2 separate regions of the Homo sapiens genome follow, and region 2 is linked to region 1. Evidence: promoter capture Hi-C in 16 types of primary human blood cells and fetal thymus (Javierre and others, 2016). All regions are on one chromosome and are shown on one strand. Each heading gives the region's core, a stretch centred on a gene start or on the middle of the fragment in contact. The rest is flanking DNA. Distances are from core to core; before and after follow the strand shown. Region 1 holds the start of SPECC1 (sperm antigen with calponin homology and coiled-coil domains 1). Region 2 overlaps USP22 (ubiquitin specific peptidase 22).

The links. Contacts are between HindIII fragments. The CHiCAGO score rates a contact against its expected background, and 5 or more counts as called.
Region 2: a contact is called between a fragment that was not itself captured here and the fragment with the promoter of SPECC1 in region 1, in 1 of 17 cell types (erythroblasts). The highest score is 5.1, in erythroblasts.

What each region holds. Positions count from the first base shown.
Region 1 is chr17:20,007,667-20,011,087 of GRCh38, forward strand. SPECC1 (sperm antigen with calponin homology and coiled-coil domains 1) reads left to right here and starts at 1,693. Exons shown (of 15, transcript NM_001243439.2): 1 at 1,693-1,758. SPECC1-DT (SPECC1 divergent transcript) reads right to left here and starts at 1,594. Exons shown (of 1, transcript NR_186461.1): 1 at 389-1,594. RefSeq lists an enhancer at 495-1,062 and silencers at 1,495-2,164, 2,185-2,364. The HindIII fragment of the contact is 26,343 bases long and covers 1-3,421 here.
Region 2 is chr17:21,038,271-21,041,691 of GRCh38, forward strand. The region is part of intron 1 of USP22 (ubiquitin specific peptidase 22); the gene reads right to left. Among named protein-coding and RNA genes, the nearest start is that of USP22, 3.0 kb to the right of the region's middle. The HindIII fragment of the contact is 633 bases long and covers 1,322-1,954 here.

The DNA.
Region 1 (3,421 bases), core at 443-2,942:
AAGAAAGCATCAGGCTGGGAGGAACATTTTTAACTGGGAAATGATCAAACCTCAAAGAATAGATAATTTTAATGCTCCTTAAATTGTTCAGAGTAAAAGGAAAAAGCAAACATGCCCATTTTTTTTTCTTTTTTTTTTTTTGTAGAGATGGGGGGGTCTCACTGTGTTTCCTAGACTGGTCTCGAACTTCTGGCCTCAAGCACTCCTCCTGCCTCGGTTCCAAATTTTTTATGATGTGAGCATAACATTGATTCTGAAACCAAACAACATTAGACATTCAAAAAGAAAATTATTGCCCATCTCATTTTTGCATATCAATGCAAAGCCTGTAAATAAAATATTAGCAAACAGAATCAAGCAGTATATTTAAAAAAAAAAGACAAGTTTATTGCAGGGATAAACTGGGTTTTTATTAGGAATTTATTATAACTAGGACTCATTACTTCAATATGAGGAAATCAGCTGTCACCCGGTTTGCTCGTCCTTACAGACATCTCCCTCCTCTTCCTCTCTTCCTTTCCAGTGAAAATGTCTTCAAGTTTCCTCTACCAAACCAAAACTTCACCCCACTTCTTTTATTCTTTCCTCCTCTCTTCTCAGAACAAAGGGGTTGTTGCTGACCAGCCCAGGGTTTCTTATTTGGGGCCGGATCATTCTTCCTTGTGGGGCAGTCCTGTCCTTCAGGTAGGATGTTGAGGAGCACCCTCGTGTCTACCCACTTAGGCAACAGTAGCAACTCCCGCATCATGACAACCAAAAATGTCTCCAGACCTCCCCAAATGTACGCGGGGCGGCGAGGAGGGGCAACACCGGCCCTGGTCGAGAACCGCTAGCCTAGGCTCGCCCCTCTACCTGGGCGCCACAACTTGCCAGGGTTGGTTATTCTCCCTGGATCCTTTCCTTCCTCCTCATTTGAGCTTCACGCCCTCAAGTATGACCAAAGGTTCTGTCATTCCACTCCTGCAGTTTTCATTAAGGTCTTAGGCCACTTCCATGTCAAGAAACACAGTGGCTCTTTCTAACCCCTGGCCATGAGGCACCCCTGGAGGAGGAGCCGTGAGGGTAGGGAAGATGCTGAGGGGGATGTTGACCTTGCCGACTTCCAGGCGCCTCCGCTGCATCCCGGAGGAGGCGTTGGGCGGTGAGGGTGCAGCGGGGGGGCGGGCCCCGCAGGATGAGGTGTCCGTGTGCGGCTAGCGCCACAGGCAAGACCGGGCTCCTTGCGGGGCGGAGGTGAGGCCGTGAGCATAGCTCTCAAACTGGAGGGCGCCTCAGAATCACTTGACGGGCTTGCGAGAATGTGGACTGCTGGGCCCCACCTTCATGGTTTTAGTGCAGGAAAAACCGAATAGGCTGGGTGGGACGGAGAATCTGCATTTTCTCAAGTTCCCAGATGAGGCTGAAGCTGCTGGTCCGGGCACCACCCTTAGAAAACCTCCAGTGTAGAGTGCGGAAATGGGGTCCACATCTGGCTTGGGACGCCCAAACATCGATTATGTGCGACCAGAGGATGAGCAGATAGGGAGATGAGACACTGAGAGCTGGGAGAGAGGGGGCCCCCGGCCGCCGGCTGAAGGAGGACGGCGCAGGCGGCGGTCCGGGTACTACATCTCCCAGCGAGCCCCGCGCGGCTCGCGCTCGCCCCCTGGCGGCGATGGCTGGAGGCGCCGGCGGAGCGCGGGTCCCTCTCCTGAGCATCAGTGAGCGCCCGGAGCCGTGGCCGCTGGGGGTTGCGGCGGCGCTGAGCCAGCGGGGCCGGTGAGTACTAGCCGCGCCGCCAGCCCGCCCGCCGGCCGGCTCTTTGCGCCTCAGCCGCGTGGTCTGAAGGGATGGGCGGGCGAGCGCGGGGGTCCGGCAGTCCGTCGTGGGGGCACGGGACTGCCTTTCTGGGAAGGCGTGCTGCGTCTTCGCCGCGGGGGCCCCGGTCCCCTCGTCGCGTGTCCTGTCCCCAGCCCAGGAGGGACGTCCTGGCCTGTCCTGCCCGGCCCGGAGCGGTGGGACCGGTGCCGCAGGTGGCAGCGGCAGGTGGCCGCCTCCTCCCCTCCGGGCCCGAGGGTTGTCGCAGGGACCCGGGACTGAGAGCCAGGTGGCTCCCGACAGCTGCGGCCCTGGAGGCGACCCCAGCCCTCGCCGCAGTGGGACAGGTGCGCGGGCACGCCCGGCCCCGGCTCCTGGGTCTCGGGAGCCTCCCGCACCCTCCCTGTTGTGCCTTGGGGGTGCTGCGTGGTGCAGAGGACCGAGAAGCCCTTCGCCCTCGGCGTCCGCCGCGCTCCCGCCCCTTCCTGGCCGGGGTGACAGGGGAAGGGCTAGGGCTGCGCATCCCGGGTCAGCTGGGGCGCCGCGGCGCAGTGCACCTGGAAGGCCCGGGGGCAGCGCGCGGTGCCCGTGGGTTTCCCGGTGGTGCGGACCTGCGGGCGTGCGGAAGTAACGACCTCCTTCCCCAGTGCCCATGCAAGGAAATTAGTGTTATGTGCTTGCTTTTTTTTTTTTTTTTTCCTAAGGAAGTTTGACTCTGAATATCTTATTTTGCTGGAGCTCCATTTGCCAGCACGTAAGTTTATGTAATAAGCGGCATACAGTTCGGAAAAAAATTTTCCTGTGAAAGTGCTCTTCCTTGCCCTCTGCAGGAAGAATTACGCCGAGCTGGTTGGCAGGCTTATCCACCAGCAACTGTAGGAGCTGCAGGCAGCAGATAAAGTGTTTTTTGAGTAAGGGCACAAGTCAGCCCTTCAGGACAATTTTTGTTTTTGGAAGATTCTGTTATCCAGTTCCAAACACCGTGTTATTTCAGTGTTGAAGATGGGGGAGGAGGGAGGAGCACAGGCTTGTCAATCCTAATACCTCAACAGAAATTAGCTTTGCAGGATTAACTCTCCAAGCAAGCGAGTTGAATTTGGTAGCCCAAACTACAGCTGAAGCTGAGCCTCCATACTAAAGCCTGTCTCAGTTTTAATAGTTTTTCGCTTGATTCGTTTGCCTCTTCCAAGTAGGTGATCTTATTGTCTGTTAAACAACAGATGTCTCTCATGTTTTTACTTTTTTCCTTGTCTTCCATAGATTACTCTCGCTGCAGTGTTGACTATTGAGGTTAAATAGGAATCTTTGTCTTGGGCTTGGTTTTAGGGAGCATTCCCTCTGTATCTTCACCGAGTGTATTCTATCACATTAAGTACATTTCTGTTTATGCCTAATTACTAAGAGTTTAAAAAGTCAAGGGTGGGTGTTGGGTTTTTTGCCCAAATGCTTTTGTGTAGCATGCATTGATATGATCATGTAGATTTTCGTCTTAAAATTGTTAACATAAGTGGTGGTCACATTGCTAGATTTTCTTTCTCTAAAACCCTGGGCTAATTTAAAATGCACTTTTGGATTGTTCACATCAATAAGCTAGCATCTTATTTAGGGTTTTGGTATCTGAGTT
Region 2 (3,421 bases), core at 388-2,887, 1.0 Mb after region 1:
AGGAAAATGAGCTAGACTATGAAAATAAAAACAAGTAATGAGAGCTCTCTACAATGTGCTCACCACCATCCCAGCACCTGGCTGAGCCAGTAAAGACAGACTGAGGCATTGTTGGATGGCTGGGAGAGGTGGCTCATGCCTGTAATGCCAGCACTTTGGGAGGCCAAGGAGAGAGGATCACTTAGCTCAGAAGTTCAAGACCAGCCTGGGCAACATGGCAAAACTCATGGCTACCAAAAATACAAAAATTAGCCAGGTGCGGTGGCGCATGCCTGTAGTCCCAGCTACTTGGGAGGCTGAGGCAGGAGGATCACTGGACCCCAGGAACTCGAGGCTGCAGTGAGCCATGATCATACCACTGCACTCCAGCCTGAGTGAGAGACAGACCCTGTCTCAAAAAAAAAAAAAATACATAAAAAATAAAAAATTTAAAAAAGTGTTTTGAGGACACAGTGCCATAAAATTTTAGATTCAAAGAGAGAAATGGTTTTAAAAACATTACCTGTTCTCCAAAGTGTCTATATTCAAAATATAATGTAGAATGTTAAATCATAATCACTTCCTGCCAGTTCCTATCTTTACAGACAAACCCTGAAATGGTAAGAAATTTGTTATATTTAACACACACCAAAAACACAAAGGAGACGCCACTGTGGTCGTGCCAGTCCTAAATCATGGAAATAGTTTTTTTCTTTTTTTTTGAGACGGTCTCGCTCTGTCGCCCAGGCTGGAGTGCAGTGGTGCGATCTCGGCTCACTGCAACCTCCGCCTCCCTGGTTCAAGCGATTCTCCTGCCCCAGCCTCACGAGTAGCTGGGATTACAGGCGCGTGCCACCATGCCCAGCTAATTTTGTGTATTTTTAGTAAAGACATGGTTTCACCGTGTTAGCCAGGATGGTCTCGATCTCCTGACCTCGTGATCCGCCCGCCTCGGCCTCCCAACGTGCTGGGATTACAGGCGTGAGCCACCATGCCCGGCAGAAATATTTTTATAGTCTGCAATACAAGAGTTTTATGGCAATTCGGGCCAGGCGCGGTGGCTCATGCCTGTAATCCCAGCACTTTGGGAGGCCAAGATGGGCGGATCACCTGAGGTTGGGAGTTCGAGACCAGTCTGACCAACATGAAGAAACCCCATCTCTACGAAAAATACAAAATTAGCCAGGCATGGTGGCGCATGCCTGTAATCCCAGCTACTTGGGAGAATCACTTAAACCCTGGAGGGGGAGGCTGTGGTGAGCCGAGATCACGCCATTGCCCTCCAGCCTGGGCAAAAAGAGTGAAAACCCCATCTCAAAAAACAGAGTTTTACTGCAATTCAAGCTTCTTTTGGACAGAAATTTATCAAGCCTGGTCATGTTTTTGTCATGTTCTGCCTGTTAAAAGAAGAATCAAAGTTTGGGTACAAAATGCATAATCCATCTGTCCTTAGATAACAAAACTCGTAATTCCTATTCATTCAGGGATTCATTTCTTTAAACTGTACCTGAGATGTCCATCTCAAAAAGTACCTTTGTTTGTTTACAAAGATTATAATTCAAGTTGAAGTTTGTTTTGAGATAGGTTTTGTTGTCCAGGCTGGAGTACAGTGGCACAATCATCAGCTTAAAGTACTTTTACAGTCAAGTTCATATCATTAAAACCAAAAATATGGCTGGGCTCAGTGGCTCTGGCCTGTAATCCCAGCACTCTGGGAGACAGGAGGATGGCTTGAGTCCAGGAGTTCAAGACCAGCCTGTGCAATATAGTGAGACACTGTCTCTACAAATATTAGCCGGTCGTGGTGACACACGCCCGTAGTCCCAGCTACTCAGGAGAGGCTGGAGTCCAGGAATCTGAGGCTGCAGTGATCACTGACCAGACCATTGCACTCCATCCTGGGTAACAGAGCAAGACTCTGTCTCTACAAAAAATAATTTTTAATAAAATAAAATTTAAAAAACAAAATGTCCTAAGCTTACAGATCTGATGGAAATCCTATGCAGATTGTCCAACTGTTAATCATCAGGTTTGTTAAACTATTTCCCAAACCAACTCTTCCTTAACTGGGCCACTAGAGAGTGCTAGAAATGCAGGACACCGCACATGAAGTGATACAGGTAAATAAGTCCCCCCAGTCAGAGGAAAAAGCATGGAGGGCTTAAGGGCTCCTTGCTGGCACACTGCCAACTGGCACTGCAGCAGCCCCCACCTAAATTTTGAAAGAAATATTTTTCACTACCCGACTACAGTTCAACTTCTAATTGGTGAATAACATACATGTGGCTCAACAGTTTTGAAACTAAGCAACTGACATCTGAAATTAAAAGATTAATCAGAGCCATAAGTAGCGCAAAAAAAAAAAGTAATTCTTAACTTTAGGAAATTAGGCAAAGTTAGTTAATGATGGTTTAAACTTGACTCCTTCTATTTGGTTAAAAAATACCAGAGGGGGGAAGAAAGGGAGAGGGAGGGAGGGAACGGAAAAAGAAAAGGAGGGAGAGGAAGAGTGGGGCGGTCCCCACTTCATCCAAAGTAGTAACAAATCTTGGGCGCGTCACGTCCCAATCCGGACACTACTGACCCAGAGTAGCAACAGCACATTCCCTGTAGAAGACTGGCTTCAACCAGGCCACCCTTTTTTTTTTTTTTCCGGAGGGGGTCTTGCTCTGTCACCCAGTCTGGAGTACAGTGGCGCGATCACTGCTCACTGCAACCTCCGCCTCCCGGGTTGAAGTGATTCTCCTGCCTCAACCTCTGGAGTAGCTGGGATTACAGGCGCCCGCCATCACACCCGGCTACTTTTCGTATTTTTAGTAGAGATGAGGTTTCACCATGTTGGCCAGGCTGGTCTCGAACTCCTGACCTCGTGATCTGCCCCCCTCGGCCTCCCCACGTGCTGGGATTACAGGCGTCAGCCACCGCGCCAAGCCAGGCCATCTTTTCTTAAAGACACACAATTCTACTAGCAAGACTCTAACTCCGATCCTGAAACGTTTTATGTCTGATTTTAGTTCATCCAGACATAACGCTACCTGATACCATTACAGATAAAAAAAATTTTGAGGCCGGGCACGGTGGCTCATGCCTGTAATCCCAACACTTTGGGAGGCAGAGGCGGGTGGATCACCTGAGATCAGGAGTTCCAGACCAGCCTGGCCAACATGGTGAAACCCCGTCTCTACTAAAAATACAAAAATTAGCCGGGCGTGGTAGCAGGAGCCTGTAATCCCAGCTACTCAGGAGGCTGAGGCAGGAGAATCGGCTGAACCCGGGAGGCGGAGATTGTAGTGAGCCGAAATCGCGCCACTGCACTCCAGCCTGGGGTACAAAGCGAGACTTCGTCTCAAAAAAATAATTTTTTTTTTGAATTACTGCTTAACATACCCTACAATCTCAGCGAGCCTGTTGGTATTCCCATAAATAAAAAAATGCCACTCAA